Regions from separate parts of the Homo sapiens genome. Here all the other regions are linked to region 3. Evidence: promoter capture Hi-C in 16 types of primary human blood cells and fetal thymus (Javierre and others, 2016). All regions are on one chromosome and are shown on one strand. The core of a region is centred on a gene start or on the middle of the fragment in contact, and the rest is flanking DNA. Distances in the headings are between cores, read along the strand shown. Region 1 holds the start of EFHC2 (EF-hand domain containing 2). Region 2 has its middle 36 kb from the start of EFHC2. Region 3 holds the start of NDP (norrin cystine knot growth factor NDP).

The links. Contacts are between HindIII fragments. The CHiCAGO score rates a contact against its expected background, and 5 or more counts as called.
Region 1: the fragment with the promoter of EFHC2 here is called in contact with the fragment with the promoter of NDP in region 3 in 12 of 17 cell types (non-activated CD4 T cells, total CD4 T cells, total CD8 T cells and 9 more); the score reaches 13.7 in non-activated CD4 T cells.
Region 2: a contact is called between a fragment that was not itself captured here and the fragment with the promoter of NDP in region 3, in 1 of 17 cell types (non-activated CD4 T cells). The highest score is 5.0, in non-activated CD4 T cells.

Annotation. Positions count from the first base shown.
Region 1 is chrX:44,342,247-44,345,006 of GRCh38, reverse strand. EFHC2 (EF-hand domain containing 2) reads left to right here and starts at 1,335. Exons shown (of 15, transcript NM_025184.4): 1 at 1,335-1,460. The coding sequence starts at 1,419. The HindIII fragment of the contact is 28,191 bases long and covers 1-2,760 here.
Region 2 is chrX:44,377,755-44,380,615 of GRCh38, reverse strand. No RefSeq gene overlaps it. Among named protein-coding and RNA genes, the nearest start is that of EFHC2, 36 kb to the right of the region's middle. The HindIII fragment of the contact is 1,237 bases long and covers 911-2,147 here.
Region 3 is chrX:43,972,073-43,974,791 of GRCh38, reverse strand. It overlaps NDP (norrin cystine knot growth factor NDP), which reads left to right and starts at 1,402. Exons shown (of 3, transcript NM_000266.4): 1 at 1,402-1,488. The HindIII fragment of the contact is 1,267 bases long and covers 438-1,704 here.

The sequences.
Region 1 (2,760 bases), core at 86-2,585, 370 kb before region 3:
GCAATACCTTCTATGCCCCACTCCCACGCTGGCCTCAAGTCCTGAAAGACAAGAAGGGGTTACTTATGTGAAAGATAGGAAGGAAGGGTGTTTCTAGACGATAGTGTTATTTGCAAAAGCCCCAAGAGGAGAAACCGCAGAGCCTGATTTAGAAACTGCCAGTGGTTTCTCAGAGCTGGAGTAGATGGAGGAGGGGGCAAAGAAAGGGATGGAGGGCATTGGTAGGTGCCCTCTGACAAAAGCTCCTCAGACCAGGCTATAAGGAGTTTCACCACCTTCTGAAGGCGGCGGGAAGGCTAGATTATTGAAGCAGAAGAGTAACAGCTGCACCATGAATTATAAAAACGACGGCTCTGGAGGCAAGATCAGTTAGTTTTTTGTGTGTGTTTGTTTTTCTTTTTAAAGAAGAAAACCAGGCAAGAAACAATGGGATCGCAGCTGAAATAGACGAGGTGGTGACTGAGAGAGAGCATCGAGTCCAACCTTTAGGGCTTCAGGGAGGGATTAGACGTAGGTGTCGGGAGAGGAGGTTCCTGGCCCGGCTATCTTGGGGTGAACGATGGAGTGACAGGGGTTGCGATTTGTGACACCTGACTCCGCCCCGGCCACCCCTGATTGGGCCTTACAAACGTTTAGTTCAAATACAAAAATGGGCCGGACACGGTGGCTCATACCTGTAATCCCAGCACTTTGGGAGGCAGAGGCGGGAGGGCTGCTTGAGCCCAGGAGTTCGAGATCGGCCTGGGCAACATAGTGAGACCTTGTCTTAAAACAACAAACAAACAAACAAACAACAAATATAAAAATATCCAGAAGAAAAACTGAAGGCGGTGGTTACCATTACAACGCGTTTTCGTCAGGGTATATGTGGCTTTAGATTCATCTTGAACGTTTTAATTACAAAATAAAAGCTGATGTCTATGCAACATAGGAAAATATCGACTTGTGTAACATCTCAGTGAGCACACGGGCGTCATATTACTTTCTGTACTTTGCTGTGTGTTTGAACCACATAGCAAAAAACTGTTGGCGACAAGAATTGGAAAAGCAAGAAAGTACAAGAAAGGCTTTGAGTTCTATAAGGGGGTTAAACCAGAAAGCGGCGGGGGCAGGGAACAGTCAATCTTTGTGTGTGCACACTGCGTGTGCAGAGAGAAGACTCCTCAGGAGACCAGGACCTGGCTGAGTGTGTGCGGGGATGAAGCGGGTGGAGGGGAACTGGGGCTGGGGAGGAGGTACGCGCCGCGGAGGTGTCCCCCGCCCCCCACGATCCTTCTCGCCAACCCCCCGCCCCTCCTCCCTCCGTGACGCCGCTTCCCGTCTCCAGGCAACGTGGGGGCCAAACAACACGGCCGGGAGGCGCCGCTGCCTGCCGGGCCCTCTCTTCTGGGACCCTGGATTTTCGGACACTGAGCGCCATGGCCCTGCCTCTGCTGCCGGGCAACAGCTTCAACCGCAACGTGAGTAGGAAGGGCGTCCGAGGTCACAGCTCCCGGCTGGAGTCTGGGGTCCAGGCAGGGTCGTGGCGTGGCCACCTCCGCAGACTCTCCTGGAGGCCCCATGCTGCTGCCCTGGGTTGGTGGCAACTTGGACCAAACTTTATAGGCTGCTTCTCCCATCTCTCCAGCTGCATCTGAATGTTTTTCCTAATTTAGAAATATATAGAGAGAGTCCTTATAGGTGGCAGGACCCTCAAAGGTAACAAATAATAGTGACGATAACCATTGGGGGTTTAATGTGTGCCAGGCGCTGTGCTTTAATCACCTTATGCAGCATCCAGTGTCCCAACAGCCCTTTGAATTAGGTAGTTTTTATTCCCAGTTACTATTGAGGAAACTGAGGCACAGAACCACACAGTCTCAGTGGTGAAGCTGGGTTTCTTTCAAGCAACCTTGTCTCCACAGCTCAGGAGCCTAATCATTATCCCCAGTATCCTGTGTGAAAAAAGATACCGTTTCAATTATCAAATTGAAGAAATCTGGCACTTATCAAGAGGGGTAGGTGGCAGATAAGAGTTCTATCAGCCTGTAAAGTTTACTCCCAAACTTTATAGAGACAGGCACCCAAACTTGGAGGGATTTTTTTTTTCTCTATTTATAATTGGGAGGGGTTCATTTCTTTTTTTTTTTTTGAGACGGAGTCTCGCTCTGTCGCCCAGGCTGGAGTGCAGTGACCCGATCTCGGCTCACTGCAACCTCCACCTCCCAGGTTCAAGCGATTCTCCTGCCTCAGCCTCCCGAGTAGCTGGGATTACAGGCGCCCGCCACCACACCGGCTAATTTTTGTATTTTTAGTAAAGATGGGGTTTCACCATGTTGGCCAGGCTGGCCTCGGACTCCTGACCTCAAGTGATCTGCCCGCCTCGGTCTCCCAAAGTGCTGGGATTACAGGCTGAGCCACTGCGCCTGTCCTGGAGGGGTTCATTTCAAAAGAAGATGAACGTACAGAACAAAGCAACACAACACAAAAAACCCTGAGCATGAAAGAACTTTTGCCAATAAATAGCACCTCATTTAAACGACAGCAGGAAAATGATTCAGGCTTTTGTTTATACTGGTTACTACCCTTCACTTGGGTCAGCCATCTGTGTCTGCAGGAGAAGCTAATTCCCAATTAGATGGGAGGGAATTAGATGGAGCCACTCAAGGCAATTGTGTAAACCTTTGATAACTTTAGAAAGCAGGCAGCAGATTGAAGTATTTGGCTTTATGGTTTCCAAACACTGTCTGTATCTAAGTTGTTGGCCCTGAAGTACAAGTT
Region 2 (2,861 bases), core at 280-2,779, 410 kb before region 3:
TAAGTTAGTGACAATTCCTTGAATATGCCATTTGTTTTCATTCTTTGGGTCGCTGTACATGTGGAATATTGGGGTTTCTCTGATGAATTCCTACTTATCTTTCTAAACTGAATTCATGTATCTGAAACCTTTTCTGATCCACTTAAACTCTATCTCCTCTACTTACTCCATGTCCTGTATACCTGGTGCTTTAGACATTTGTGTTTTTTTAACCTGTTTTATTTTTATTTTGTTGTTGTTGTTGTTTTGTTTTGTTTTGAGACGGAGTCTCACTCTGTCGCCCAGGCTGGAGTCTAATGGTGCGATCTTGGCTCATTGCAACCTCTGCCTCCTGGGTTCAAGCCATACTCCTGCTTCAGCCTCCTGAGTAGCTGGGATTACAGGCTCTCGCAGCCACTCCCAGCTAATTTTTTTATATTTTTAGTAGAGACAGGGTTTCACCATGTTGGCCAGGCTGGTCTCGAACTCCTGACCTCAGGTGATCCACCCACCTCGGCCTCCCAAAGTGCTGGGATTACAGGTGTGAGCCACTGTGCCCAGCCTTTTTAACCTGTTTAATTGTCCTATTAGACTTTTAACTCCTTGAGCACAGTGACTTTGTTTTCTTTAATATTTGTATCTCCAATACCCAGAAGGCATATGATAGACATTAAATAAATGTTTAGTCCACGAATAAATAAAAAATGAATACATAGTCAATTTAAATAAATTTGGGGAAGATAAGGATTTGAAGAAGAGCATGTGCAAGAGAGTCATTATTTGAAATAATCTCCCAGGAGTAAAAGTTGAAGGCCATTGATCTGCAAGATTTGGGCACCAGATGATATAGAAGAATTCTCAGGAAGTAAGAGCCTTATTTGAATAAGATGTGATTATGATTGATTTCAAATATTTCTTTGCCTTGGAAGCTTTGACTTTGCTTTATATAGGATTGTATGTTACAGACACATCAACTACACAGCAAAGAAAAAAAGAGGTAAAAATCAGACCCATACGCAAACTCAGTACTAAAAATGTAGTTGCAATTCCACACACAACAGATGAGGTGTGGACTTAAAAAAAAAAAGTGACTGAAGTGAAGAAGAAATGTTGCCCAGAGGTGTATTTTTATTTTTGTTATTTTACTAAGTACCTGCATATAAAAATTGATATTAAAAGCAGCTGAAGCAAATTCTAATGGGTGGGGAATGATTTTAAAACAGAAACAGTGGGCCACTGCACTTTCTTGTAATTACTCATCTGGGTAAGGGCTTCAAAATGTATTAGCCATAAAGGAAAGACTTCAGACAGACATCTGCAACCCAAAATGCTTAGGCTGTTTCAATTATGATGACTATTTTAAGTATTCACTCACTCACTCTCTCTCTCCCTTTTTTTTTTTTTTTTTTTTTGAGATGGAGTCTTGCTCTGTCACCCAGGCTGGAGTGTGGTGGCGTGATCTCACCTCACTGCAACCTTCACCTCCCAGGATCAGTCGCTTCTCCTGCCTCAGCCTCCCAAGTAGCTGGGATTACAGGCACCCGCCATCACACCTGGCTAATTTTTTCCTTTATATTTTTAGTAGAGATGGGGTTTCACCATGTTGGCGAGGGTGGTCTCGAACTCCTGACCTCAAATGATCCACCCACCTTGGCCTCCCAAAGTGCTGGGATTACACCGTTTCCGATCCTTCTTTCTCTCTCTCTCTCTCTCTCTCTCTCTCACACACACACACACACACACACACCCTCAAGGCCCAAATATATGTTGATTCATTTTACTAAAAGGCCTTTGCTTTAGATCTTAAGAGATGGGAATAATGACACAAGCCACGAGGAGAGAAAAAAAAGCACCCATGAGATAAACTGTTACCTCAGTGCAGTAAAGAGTTAACATAGAGTCCTAACTGCTTATCCTTAGAAAGGCTTGCTCACAAGGTTGGCTCTTAGCTGGTATCCCAGAACTTGAATTTCAGGAGGGTTCCCACCATTTCTAGAATTGGTAAGAGTGGCTCACTGTGCCTAAACTTCATGCAAGCAATGCGGTTTATGCTGAACATCTATCTGCTTTCCTTCTGGGAGTCTGGAATTTGGGTACCTGCCAGGCAAGGGGTACTTCCATGACCAGCCCCCCAGGAAAAGCCCTGGGTGCTGAATTTCTAATAAGCTTCCCTGGTAGACATTTCAGAACTCATTGCTGGGGAAATCAAGTACATCCCTTGTGACTCCACTGGGTGAAGATTCTTGGAAGCTTGCTCCTGGTTTCCTCCAGACTTCACCCCCATGTGCCTTTTGCTTTTGCTGATTTTGCTTTGGGTCTTTTGGCTGTGATATATCCGCACCATGAGTATAACGGTATGCTGAGTCCTGTAAGTCCTCCTAGCAAATTATGGAAACTGAGGATAGTCTTTGGGGTCCCCCACTCCTCCAACAGCAGTTTGGATGCTTTTACAACCTTACTTGAAAATTATTCTTATTTAATACTCTCATACCCTCTCCTAGCATATTTTCCTCTTGGATGTGCTGCAAATATCCAGTCACAGAAGAGCCGGCGTTTAAAAACAAATTTCATTGTTACATACATAGTCCTACAAAACAAAATATAGCTAGAAGTTAAAATTTCCCCCCAAATAAGCCAGCCATTTCTGTCTAAACTTAAAGTATTAGAATATTGTAACTGACTTGATGAAAAAATCCATAGGCACTTGCCACCTTTTGGGAATATTCTGTTTCCCTGTCAAGTCACCTGCCAGACTTTCTAAAAAAGAGGAATGTCTGAGATTTCTTTTTTTCTCTTTCCCACCTGGCAAATCTCTACTCAGCCATTGTGTTAGTCTGTTCTTGCGTAGGTATAAAGGAATACCTGAGCCTGGGTAATTTATA
Region 3 (2,719 bases), core at 153-2,652:
TGACTGGCTGGTCCAAGGTAGACAGGGTATTTTTTTTTCCAAGTGGAGCATAAGAAAAGGGATTTCTGGCAATAAAACTGAAAGTTTTAAGACACCTCTTGCAAATATCAGTGACTGGAGTAAAGGTCCCATGGAAAAGTAATAAGGTGAATGTAAATTTATTAATGAATAACAAATAGTTTGATACAGAGTTGAACAAGACAGTTTCAGCATCAACAATTACATGAAGCTCCCAAGAAAAATTTCTTTTTGAGTTTTATAATGTATTATTTTTTCCACGAAATATATATATTTTAAATTCTCAGTTTAATTCTTCATCAGTAGTATTAATAAAACAAATTATTCTGGGTCTGATTTACCTGACATAAAATAATTATTAAATGTTCTTTGTATTTTCCTCCAAAATCCCTGACGGTTTTCTGTGTTAATTTTAAGCTTTCAAAGGGCAAGAATTATGAAATATTTGCCTTTGTAGTCCCACAGCTCATAACACAGCATGATTCAGCTGCAGGTATTTAACCCACACACATAGTTACCTTTGTCACTTTTCTACTAGTTGTTGTGTAATGGGTTAGCTTTATCTATTAGTTTCTCCTTCATATAGCTCAAGGAGTCAAGGAATACACGTTCTCATTGTTTCTAAATCAGACCTAAAGTTTTATTCTAAATGATGCAGATGAAGGGGCTTATTAAAGTGCCATTGTGAATTTAATCATGTATATGCTGCTAAAAATCATTTAATGGATGAACAACCCGGAAAAAAAGAACTCTCACCACCCACACACATCGTGATAAAATAGGGCAGCGTTTTGCACTTGCTTTAACAGCATCGCCTGAGAAAAAAATTTCTGGTTCCCATCTTTCCCCTCTCTTACTTAAAATTTCAACTTCATCACAGTCAGCTGCCGAATCGTTCAACAGAATGCCACACTGCCTTTGTATTTCCAAAACTATACGTCTCTATTGCGGACGGCACATCTTTATGGCAGCCACATGCTTGAAAAAGAATTAAATTCAGAATATTCATTTGGCCTCTTATTAGTTCCATAATACCATTAAAAAAGAAAGAAAGAAAGAAACTTCCTCGCCCTTGTTCTGCTACGCTGTTCCCATCGTAAGATGCTCCGTGGAAGGGAGCCGAGCGGTGGGCAGAGGCTGAGTCCCCGATAACGAGCGCCTCACATTTCCGTGGCATTCCCATTTGCTAGTGCGCTGCTGCGGCCGCACGCCTGATTGATATATGACTGCAATGGCACTTTTCCATTTGACATTCTCTCTCTCTCTCTCCCTCTCTCTCTCTCCCTCTCTCTCTCCCTCTCTCTCTCTCCCTGTGTCGCTTAAACAACAGTCCTAACTTTTGTGTGTTGCAAATATAAAAGGCAAGCCATGTGACAGAGGGACAGAAGAACAAAAGCATTTGGAAGTAACAGGACCTCTTTCTAGCTCTCAGAAAAGTCTGAGAAGAAAGGAGCCCTGCGTTCCCCTAAGGTAAGCAGGAAAACAAGCGCTGCCGGCTTGCCTAGGAAATCGCTTCTTTCCAAACCGAGCATTTCATCCTCCTCTCAGACAAAGAGACAACCTTTAAATACCACTTAAATTTGCATTACTTTAATTTGCATTAATCTGTAGCATGCTAGCATTGTGTTTCTTAAATGAACGGGTCTTTGAAGTCTGTGACAGAGCAGGGAGCCTCCTAGAAAAGCTTGAAAATATCTTTTGGTTTGACTTAAAGAGATTTTTCTTTTCAAACTCTCTGCGTAGTTAGATGTAACTTTGTGATGGTTCTTATAGTTGACCCCGTGAAAGGGGGCTGCGAAGCAGCAACTTGCCAACATGGATTCATGGAGCCCAGTATCTTCCCCAGCACCCTCATCCCACTTACAATGGGGGCACTATTAACGCAGGCAAGACTGCGAGTTTAAAAGCGCACTGTTTACTTTTATTACTACTTATGTATGCTGCTGATCTCCTGCCAGGGCTCTGCCGGAGTGCTCAGAATGACTTCAAACAATAGGCAACATTTATTTCTAGCTTTCTGTGTCACGCTTTGCAGGAATCCTGCTCCCTTGCACTCTTCTTTCAGCGTGCAGGTCTTCGCTTCCATAGATGCATTGGGGAGCACCGGGAGGAGATGAGGATGGATTTACTGTATGATTTTGATTGGGCAAAAAGTCCGAGGAAATGCATGCTGTTTGCCTTGGACTTATTGCAGGGGGTTATTTTTAGTCATCAGCTCGTCCCTGCAGCATGATGTTCAAGGAGTGACCGGGAAAGGATGCTCCCACCAGCACAGAGACCAGGACCTGTAGGAATGACTCCTACCTGCGGGATATTCCGAGGTTTCTTTCAAACTTTGGAATACAAGTTCTCTCTTTAAATGAACAATTGAGCTGTAGGAGGCCTGGGCATAACTCTTTCTTGGGGGACGGGAAGTTTGATTGTGTACAGAATGTTAATGACTCAGAACGCCCAGTAACTGAGGCTCATTGTAATAGACAAACCCAGATAAGCCTCCATGAGAGGCAGACTCCCATCTTTACTGAGATTCAGGTGCGGGAAAGGAAGCTATTTGGCAAGATGGGAGTCCCTTGTACAGTTCTTTGTAACTCATTAATAACAGATATGGCTGCTGTGAAACATGTCTCTTTTCATTTCTAATATTAGTGTATTTTAATTACAAGGAGCTGGCATTGGCAAATTACCCCAACACATAAGATTA